Linked DNA regions of Homo sapiens: region 2 is linked to region 1. The links are contacts of gene promoters, found by promoter capture Hi-C in human tissues and cell types (Jung and others, 2019). All regions are on one chromosome and are shown on one strand. Each heading gives the region's core, a stretch centred on a gene start or on the middle of the fragment in contact. The rest is flanking DNA. Distances are from core to core; before and after follow the strand shown. Region 1 overlaps TTBK2 (tau tubulin kinase 2). Region 2 holds the start of ZSCAN29 (zinc finger and SCAN domain containing 29).

Region 1 (4,743 bases), core at 2,029-4,528:
GCGGTGGCGGGCGCCTGTAGTCCCAGCTACTCGGGAGGCTGAGGCAGGAGAATGGCGTGAACCCGGGAAGCGGAGCTTGCAGTGAGCCGAGATTGCGCCACTGCAGTCCTCAGTCCGACCTGGGCGACAGAGCGAGACTCCGTCTCAAAAAAAAAAAAAAAAAAAAAAAAGAGCTCCTCTGAAGAGTTAGTAAAAAGAAATGAAGATTTGTAAAGAACCCCATTTGCTGATGGCAAAAGAAGAGAAGGTAAGTTTATTCACCACTCACACTTCAACTGTTCTTTATCAACTTTCAGGGGAGGTAAATTATACTTTGGGCAACCTGAAATCTCTCTGAGCTCAATAAATCTAAGTAAAATATCTATTGAGAGAGGCTGGGCGTGGTGGCTCACATCTGTAATCCCAGCACTTTGGTAGGCCGAGGCGGGCGGATCACGGGGTCAGGAGATCGAGACCATCCTGATTAACACGGTGAAACCCCGTCTCTACTAAAAATACAAAAATTAGCCAGGCGTGGTGGTGGGCGCCTGTAGTCCCAGCTACTCAGGAGGCTGAGGCAGGAGAATGGCGTGAACCCGGGAGGCAGAGCTTGCAGTGAGCCGAGATCACGCCACTGCACTCCAGCCTGGGCGACAGAGCGAGACTCCGTCTCAAAAAAAAAAAAGTAAAGAGAAGCTTTACAGGTCAGTATGGTTACAATTACTGACAACAAAAGTGTAAACAACCTAGTTTTCCTCTCCCTGGCTACCATACTAGCAACACATAAACAAATTCTTCCCTTATAGGAAGTACAGTATAACTTACATGACCAGATTGTTAAGGAAAACACTACACATTCCTTGGGTAAACAAAATCATTCCTCGGGTAAAATCTACTATAACCAAATCAACCGAGCAAAGCATTATGTCTATGATCTTCCCACTAACACAAAGAAAAATCAATACAGAACCTTTTCTGTATCTTCACTGCAATAACATTTTAAGTATATTAACTTCCTTTTTTTTTTTTTGAGATGGAGTTTTGCTCTGTCACCCAGGCTGGAGTGCAATGGTGCTGTCTCGACTCACTGCAACCTCCACCTCCCGGATTCAAGCGATTCTCCTGCCTCAGCCTCCCAAGTAGCTGGGACTACAGGTGCGTGCCACCATACCCGGCTAATTTTTATATTTTTTAGTAGAGACAGGGTTTCACCATATTGGCCAGGCTAGTCTCAAACTCATGACCTCGTGATCTGCCCGCCTCAGCCTCCCAAAGTGCTAGGATTATAGGCATGAGCCACCACGCCTGGCCTTAACTTCCTTTTTCAAAAACAGCAAAACTGGCCAGCCACAGTATAATATAATATATCCTAATATATTATATCCTAATCACTTGTACATTTAATGAATCACCGATAAGCTGCTGGACCCTAGCTACAGAGACACTATAGCCATCTACTTGGAACACCTCTTTCTTGTAACCATGGCTTGTACTCTGGCTTCTGGTAACACAGTCCTAAGTTCTCATGGTTCAAACAGAGAGTGTAAAACCATAACATAGGAACTCTGTCAGTATTCAAGTAATTGAGGCTTGGGAGAATCCAAAGTAGAAACCCATATTGGAGGGAGAGTGGGGACTCTTTAGGACAAAACTCTTTCAAGTGTTCTTGTGTTCTGAAAGAACTTGTCTAAAGCTGTTTCATGGGTTGTGTGGACATTTAATTTCAAATAGTCTTTTAAATTTAAAAACATTTATTTTGTCATTATTTATTTAATTATTTAACTAATTATAGGGATAATATATCCACTAGCCTCTGACTCTGGTGAAGTATGTAGAATGAACTGTGGCTGATGAAACAGAAACTTCTTCCCTGAACCCACCTCTTGACTGTTAGGTCTGTTAAATGCTCATGTCTGCATCTTCCCTTCATAATACCTGGAACACTTGTAATTCCTTCTCCTGCAAATCTCTGCTTCCACTATTTGTAAGCTCCAAAAGTGAGTAGATTATTTGTCTTGTTGGCTGTTAAATCTCCAACCCCTAGCACAGTAACATGGTAGATGCTTAGCAAGTATTTAATCAAGGAATGAGGCTACTGTTACACAGTAATCCCCCTTATCCATGGTTTCACTTTCTGCAGTTTCAGTTACCCGTGGTCAACCACAGTCCAAAAATATTAAATGGAGAATTCCAGAAATAAACAATTCATACGTTTTAAATTGTATATTGTTTTGAGTATGGTGATGAAATCTCAAGCTGTTCAGCTCTGTTGCACCTAGGACGTGAACCATCCCTTTGTCCAGCATGTATCTGCACCGTCTGTGCTGTTTGTCACTTAGTAGCCATCTTGGTTGTTAGATCACTGTCTCAGTATAGCAGTGCTTGTGTTCAAGTAACTAACTCTTATTTTACTTAATAATGGCCCTAAAACACAAGAGTAGTGATGCTGGCATATTACGATAACTGTTCTATTTTATTAGCTATTGTTATTATTCCCTTACTATGCTTAATTTATAAACTTTATCACAGCCATGTATGTATAGGAAAAGCATAATTATCTATAGGGTAAGGTACTATCTGAGGTTTCAGGCATCCACTGGGGGTCTTGGAATGCATGCCCCTTAGATGGGGATGACTACAGTAGTTTAAAGTTTCACAGAGACCAAAGTAAGGTGGTAGCAATGGAAATAAAATGCAGAGGGCTAGGCATTGTGCCTCATGCCTATAATTCCTGCACTTTGGGAGGCTGAGGTGGGAGGATTGCTTGAATTCAGGAGTTCAAGACCAGCCTGGGCAACATAGTGGGACCCCACCTATACAAAAAATTGTAAAATTAGCCAAGTGTGGTGGCACATGCCCGTAGTCCCAGCTACCCAGGAGGCTAAGGGGGGAGGACTGCCTGATCCCAGGAGGTCAAGGCTGCAGTGAGCTACGATCATGGCACTCCAGCCTGGGCAACAGAGCAAGACCCTGTCTCCAAAAAAAGAAAGAAAGCAGAGGTTTTGTGTGGGTGAGATCCAGGAGAAATAGGGAGCAAAAAGAAAAAAGAAAAAAGAAAAGAGAGAGAGAGAATGTGTGTTTTGATCCTGTATGACTAAATGATAATGCCTTTATTTATAGAATTAAGGAAGTTAAAAAGAGAACTGACTATTATCTTGGATATGTTGAATTTTTTAAGTGCTAGGGAAGTCCAGCAGAAATGAAGTCCTAATCTAGTTTATTATCTACCATATAATTTAGCCTCCAGATGATTTTTCTTAAATCAAATTTCCATGAGAGGCAAGGCTCACATTTTTTTCTTTGGTTATTCATTTTTTCCTATTTTCCTCCCCTCATCTTCGCCTTATTGGTCATTGAAAAATGTTTTTTGTTTTTGTTTTTGATACAGAGTTTCACTCTGTCACCCAGGCTGGAGTGCAGTGGCACAATCTTAGCTCACTGCAACCACCGCCTCCGGGTTCAAGCAATTCTCCTGCCTCAGCCTCCCAAGTAGCTGAGATTACAGGTGCATGCCACCACATCCTGCTAATTTTTCTATTTTTAGTTGGGATGCGGTTTCGCCACGTTGGCCAGACTTGTCTCCAACTCCTGACCTCAAGTGATTCAATTACCTACCTTGGCCTCCCAAAGTGCTAGGATTACACGTGTGAGCCACCACACCCGGCTGAAAAATGGTGATAAAACTTTTAGATATTTTTGAAACTGAAGCACTTGGAGGATCAAGAAATTTAAAAAGACTTTACAAACTTCATCTATAATATATAACGTGGAAAATTCAATGTTGGAAAAATATGAACAAAATATAGTCTTTCAATGATCATATGGCTAGAACAAGATGATGGAAACTGCAACTCCATTTTTTTAAAGGCAACTACTTTGAAACTGCAGAAAGAAAAAGACAAATATAAAAATATTAATTATAAAACCATTTTGGTAAAAACATATATAATGGCAAATATGTTTTCTAATTCAAACATTTTAAAATGCTGATTCTTGTTTTCAATAAAGATGTTAATTCTCTGTTTAAAAAAATAATGATTCTGAAAACATGGTTAAATCTCGATAGCTTACCAAAGGAAGCTAAGAAGCTACTTAGTAACTTCCACTCTTTAGGAGGCACTATTACATCCCAGATTCTTTTCAAAGGACACTTAAGTTTTTCACATTGGGAAGCTTTACCCTAACTGAAGTGAAAGCAAATTCCTATATACAATAAAAAACAGCTATAAACACTCCAAAACACCAAGGATTATAGAGACAAAGGTTAAAAAAAAAATCACAGGAAAAAAAATCCAAAATGTTCACAAAAGTTTGTAAGTACTATATGTTCACTTAAGCATCAAGAATAAAGTCACATGACATTAATGAAAATATACTAAGAAGGCTATTTAAAAATAACCAACTGAAAAGAAGAAACTATCTAGCAAAATTGACATTCATATTATGTTATAATATAATTTCAATCTGTATTATAAACCTATAATCAAGGATCACCAGACTTTAATGAGGCAGTTTTGAGTAGTAATATGTGTTGTCCTTATGCTCAAAATTTAGTTCTAAAAAACTGAATTTTTTCATATGACCTTAAAGGCTCTTTCACCAAATATGTACGATATTTAACTTGAAAGCTTTCAGTACTTTCGGCATAAAAGGTTCTATCCACTGAAGCCTGGGGAAAAAACTTCCACTACCACACATTGTTTACAATATGCTGGATGACAAAAAAAAAAAAGACTAGGAAATAAAACTAAATAAAATGTATTT
Region 2 (4,732 bases), core at 902-3,401, 450 kb after region 1:
GTCTATCTTCCCATATGAATCTACTCCTCACCGCTCCTTTGAAAAGGTTTGAGCTTCTCCTTTGGGTTCATCTGCTCCTGTGGTCCCAGGTCTGGGCTTCTTGCCCTCTCTTTCTTGGGTACACCCCTGGGCTGGGGTTCCACTGACTCCTGCCGAACACTTAATAACTCTTGTGATGATTTCGGGGGTGTCATCTTCTCCAAGCGCACTTCCTGCCCCTTCACAGAGACTGTGACCTAGAAACAACCCCCGTTAATTGTCACTGCAAGATCATAATGAGGGGCATTCCCAGAGGAGAGTATTTAATACCCCAAAAGAGATCATCTTTCAGAGCCATGGCCAGGGTTGTAGGGGTGAGGGAGGTTAACGCGAACAAGGGTCTTATTCCATTGCCATTAGCTTAAAGCAGTTGAAACTCCAGAAGGAAACGATCAAAATAGTAAACCCACCTTCAGGCTGAAAAAAAAAAATCCCCTTTCTTCCCTATTAAGAAACTATAGGAAAAACTCATTATGACAGGGTAGGTGAAGGTACACCCAGGAAGCATCTCCAGACAAGCACTATCTGAAAAAGTTACCTATACCAGACCAGAAGTATAAGCCTCACCAAGGGAGACTGTGTCCCTCTTTAAGCCTGTCTATATCTTAATTTAGCCCTCCACCCAGTATCACACTTTTGAATTTGAATTCCCCCTCCCTTCTCACCGAAGATCTAGGTCTTCCAGGCTCTCTTTCTAAATCTTCCACGAGAGTCACTGCCTCCTCTCCATTTTCTGGACATTGTTCCTGTACCCAATTCTGGATCTCCCCAGGTAAGACGGTCAGGAACTGCTCTAGCACCAACAGTTCTACAATCTGCTCCTTGGTGCGCACCTCCGGCCTTAGCCACCGACAGCAAAGTTCCCAGAGTTGGCTGAAAGCCTCCCGCGGCCCAGCCACCTCCTGGTAATGGAATCTCCTGAAACGCTGTCGGAAGGTCTCAGAGTTAGTGCCATTCTCTCTTAGAGCTGATTTGGCCATCATTAATAGCAGAATGCAGCTTCCCTTCGCTTAGGAGTCTGGGTTCCAGGGCTTACATCTATCTTCCCATGTCCTTGGAGAATCCCCTGCAGATGACTGTAAGAGGTGTTTCTTCCTAGGGCAGAGAAAGATGGCACTATCAGAAGGAATACATTCATATGTCTAAAGTCTTGCCAGAGCTGGCCTGCCTTTCCATGTGCTCCGAGTGGCCTTCTAAGGTAGCACAATCTTCAGTAAATAGACTTTGCAAAAACTGCTTTTCTGGTTGACTTCCAGGGCAGCCCCAGGAAGCAGCAGAGAATAAAAGTACTGTCTGCCCCTCTCCCACCTCCTCCAAATCCGATCCCATTTAACTTCCCTGGCCAATGTTGCACAGTGAGTCCGAACCATATAGGAGAGCTGGAGTTCGAGAGGATCTAAAGACAAGTCACCATCCTGCTTGAAGGCAACAAAAAGCCTCTGTCCAGCTGGTCGCAGCTGATCTCCCCCAGTATCTCCGCAGTCCTTCCCGAGGCCTTCTGCGTCCGCCCCGCCCCCTCGGGCTGCACAACTCCCAAAGCCCACCCCAGGCAAAAATCACGTCCAGAATCTCGGGTCTTTGTTTTCCCCGCGTAGTAGTAGCCGCTCAGCAAGGATTAGGGAGCTACCTGTCGGAAAACCTCGCGCAAGGAGAGAAGCTGGTTTTGGCTCCAAAGCGAGGACCATGGGGGCTTGGGGAGAGTCACATTGGGCAGGAGAGACGGAATCCGAGGAGCAGTAGTAACGGGCTTCCTGAGGACGGGCTCGGGTGTCGGCCAGAGGCTCCAGGTGCTGCCGGTTCGCGGACGCAGAGCTCTCAGCCCAAGGAGCAGCGGCTGCGGGATTCTGGCCTCTTTTGTCTCCGCTCCCTCCGGCCGGGTAACCCGGAGCCGTCGTGCGGTCCCTCCAGAGGCCTCTGACCCGGCTAAGGCGCCCTGAGGGCGCCCTCCAGCCCACCCCTGGGAGCGTCTCCCTCTCGAGCTGCCCCTCAACCCCCTCGCATCCTTGCCTCCGGGCCAGCCTCACCCACTCGGGGTCCGACCCTGACCCCGGCCCCGGCCCCGGCCCCGGCCCCGGCTCTCCAGCCTCCCAAGTACAGCTCCCAAACCGGAAGTCCGAGCGGGCGGCTCGGGGCACCGAGGGCGCATGCGCGAGGGCAGCGACCGCGACTCAGTCTCCGCAGAGCCCGGGCGGGAGTAGCTGGTGGACCCCGTTGAGCTGCCGAACTTCCGGGACTCCCCCGCGACCCCTTCCCAGCTTCCCGTCCGCTCCGCCGCAGCGATTGTCTCGGTGGGTTGATTCGGCACAAACCGCCCGACCCAGGGGCCGGTGCGCGTGTGGAAGGGGAAGCACTCCCCTCGTGGTCGCCTGGAGGTGCGCTGGAGGAGGGGGTGACATAACCAGGGACTCGAGGTCCGCCGTGGGAATGATCCACGAACTGCTCTTGGCTCTGAGCGGGTACCCTGGGTCCATTTTCACCTGGAACAAGCGGAGTGGCCTGCAGGTACTGTCCGGCGCAGAGCGCGGGAACCAGGGAGCGCAGGAGGGGGGACCTGAGCCAGCGCCTGGGGGAGTAGGCTGAGGGACCTAGCGAGCGGGGCTTCCAGGGCTGGGGGCGTATCCCTGGACAGGTGACTGGAGGGCAGCCCCTTAGGGTCAAGGCTGATGCGACACCTAGAGAGGCCGGGCCTAGGCTAGAAAACGGAGGGCAGACCTCGAAGAGCCCCACCTGTGGCGGGGCGAGGAAAGGGCCTGAGGTCCAGGTGTCTGACAGTTGCTGGGGAATGATATAGAAGTGTGGGAGGCACTTTCTCCTATTTATTTTCACACGTGCATTGTTTGAGTTTTGAAGTACTGGGCCAAATACACAGCTCCCAAACACATGGTAAGCGCTCAGTAAAGTTTGTTGAAGGAAATAAATGAAATCGAGAGCGTGTGGTGTTTCCCTCATTACTCCTTTACCAGAAAATTTCTGCACTAGGTAAAGCACTTGGTAGGGGGCCTTTGTGTAACCAGGAATGTATGATGTTCCGTATGCATTATCTTATTTAATCCTCACAACCACCTTATCCATTTTACAGATTAAGCTAGGTTTAGAATAGTTAAATAACTATCGGGGTCATAGCTAGTAATTAACAGAGCTTAGTTTTGAAGCCAGGTCTGTCTGGCTTCAGTATTTGAACTACTTTTACCTGCTTCTGCTTCCAGTAATGTTATCTAATGCTCTCAATAATTTAGTCCACTTAGGTATTGTTTCTACCAGTTAACAAATGAGCAAACTGAAGCTCAGAAAACTTTATGCTGGCCAGTCCTAGTAGTGGCAAGACTGAAATCTAGGTCCGTCTGATCACCAAGACATGCCGATTCTTAGGAGACTGTGGAAGAGCAGAAAAAGTACATTCTTAGTCTATAAAACCTATAAATCAAACAGTTTCCTTTCGTTATTATTTATGAACATGTATTTGGAGTTTGGGAGTTTAGGTGAATTTTTGAAAAAAACAGGTGAAGATTTGTGTGGTGGAGTTTGAATTGTTATCTTTCACCTGTAGGTCTTTGAAGACTAATTCGATGTTTCACTTTTCTCCATAGATCTTAGTACAATGCCAGGCATATAGGAGGACAGTATTTAGGAAGTATGTGGGTGCCTGATGGTCCAAAATAAGAAGAGATAACACAGTACAGGAAAGATAGCTAGGGAGGGGGTGGGGGAGACAACCACAAGTAATTCATCTTTTCCCTTCCTTTCTTTCTTATGAAAAATTCTCAATCATGTATTTTCTACCATTTCATCCTCAAGGTCTCAGCTTTAAAGTCACTTTGTCAGAAAAACTTTCTCTGAGCACATCTTTAAGCATCCTCCCCTGATGCCATTATTCTCCATCAACTTGTTTATTTCCCTTGTAGGATTTGTCACAATTCATAATGTATTGTTGTTACCTGTTTTTAGCCTTTCTCCCGCATAGATTGCCCCTGGGAGCGAAGACCAGTGGTCTTCTTCATTCATCTACCCAGAGCACCTAGCACAGTTTCTGCCACATAGCAGGTGTTTAGGTATTGATGGAAGAAAAGAAGACAAAGATGGCAAATATTACATAATTTCTGCAGAGCAGTGTCTTTTACATTTGAGTAAAGGGAAAAGTTGTCATGAGTGCCAAGTGTTAATGAAAATTATTTTATTATATTGAATATGTATATACATAAGCTAGGTATAAACTCAAGCATAATACTCTTAAACAACTATAAAATCAAATATTTTTATAAATTAAAAGTAAACAAAACTACCAAATCAATAAGTTCAAATGACCATTATTCTAATGCAGGATTTCTCAGCCTGTTCCTATAACTGTGTTATATAGAATGGTATCAGTAACTTCGAGTTATTATTTGCTGTTTCAGAATAATTAGATATTGAACTTTTCGAAAACTCTGCCAACAAGAAACGCTCAAATGCCAATTTTAATAGTAGTATCACTTGATAACTGGTAGAGCTGTCTTGTTAATAATATAAAATTGCTTATGTGTATTGAGCACTAGCTATGTGGTTGGGATATGTGCTTTACACATGTATTAACTTATTTAATCCTCACAATTATTTTCTTCAGTTTATAGGTATGAAAACAGGCACAGACAGGTATAGTAACTTGCCTAAGCTTTCAAGCAAGTAAGAGGCAACTCAGGGATTCAAACCCAGGCAG

Evidence for each region. Contacts are between HindIII fragments. The study calls those that stand out against the background at their distance.
Region 2: a contact is called between the fragment with the promoter of ZSCAN29 here and a fragment that was not itself captured in region 1, in 1 of the 25 tissues and cell types used here (hippocampus).

What each region holds. Positions count from the first base shown.
Region 1 is chr15:42,912,986-42,917,728 of GRCh38, forward strand. The region is part of intron 1 of TTBK2 (tau tubulin kinase 2); the gene reads right to left. Among named protein-coding and RNA genes, the nearest start is that of TTBK2, 5.4 kb to the right of the region's middle. The HindIII fragment of the contact is 6,776 bases long and covers 1-4,743 here.
Region 2 is chr15:43,368,892-43,373,623 of GRCh38, forward strand. ZSCAN29 (zinc finger and SCAN domain containing 29) reads right to left here and starts at 2,152. Exons shown (of 6, transcript NM_001372080.1): 1 at 1,667-2,152; 2 at 705-1,134; 3 at 32-236. The coding sequence starts at 1,022. It overlaps TUBGCP4 (tubulin gamma complex component 4), which reads left to right and starts at 2,210. Exons shown (of 18, transcript NM_014444.5): 1 at 2,210-2,541. The coding sequence starts at 2,464. RefSeq lists a silencer at 1,851-2,120 and an enhancer at 2,221-2,340. The HindIII fragment of the contact is 7,589 bases long and covers 1-4,732 here.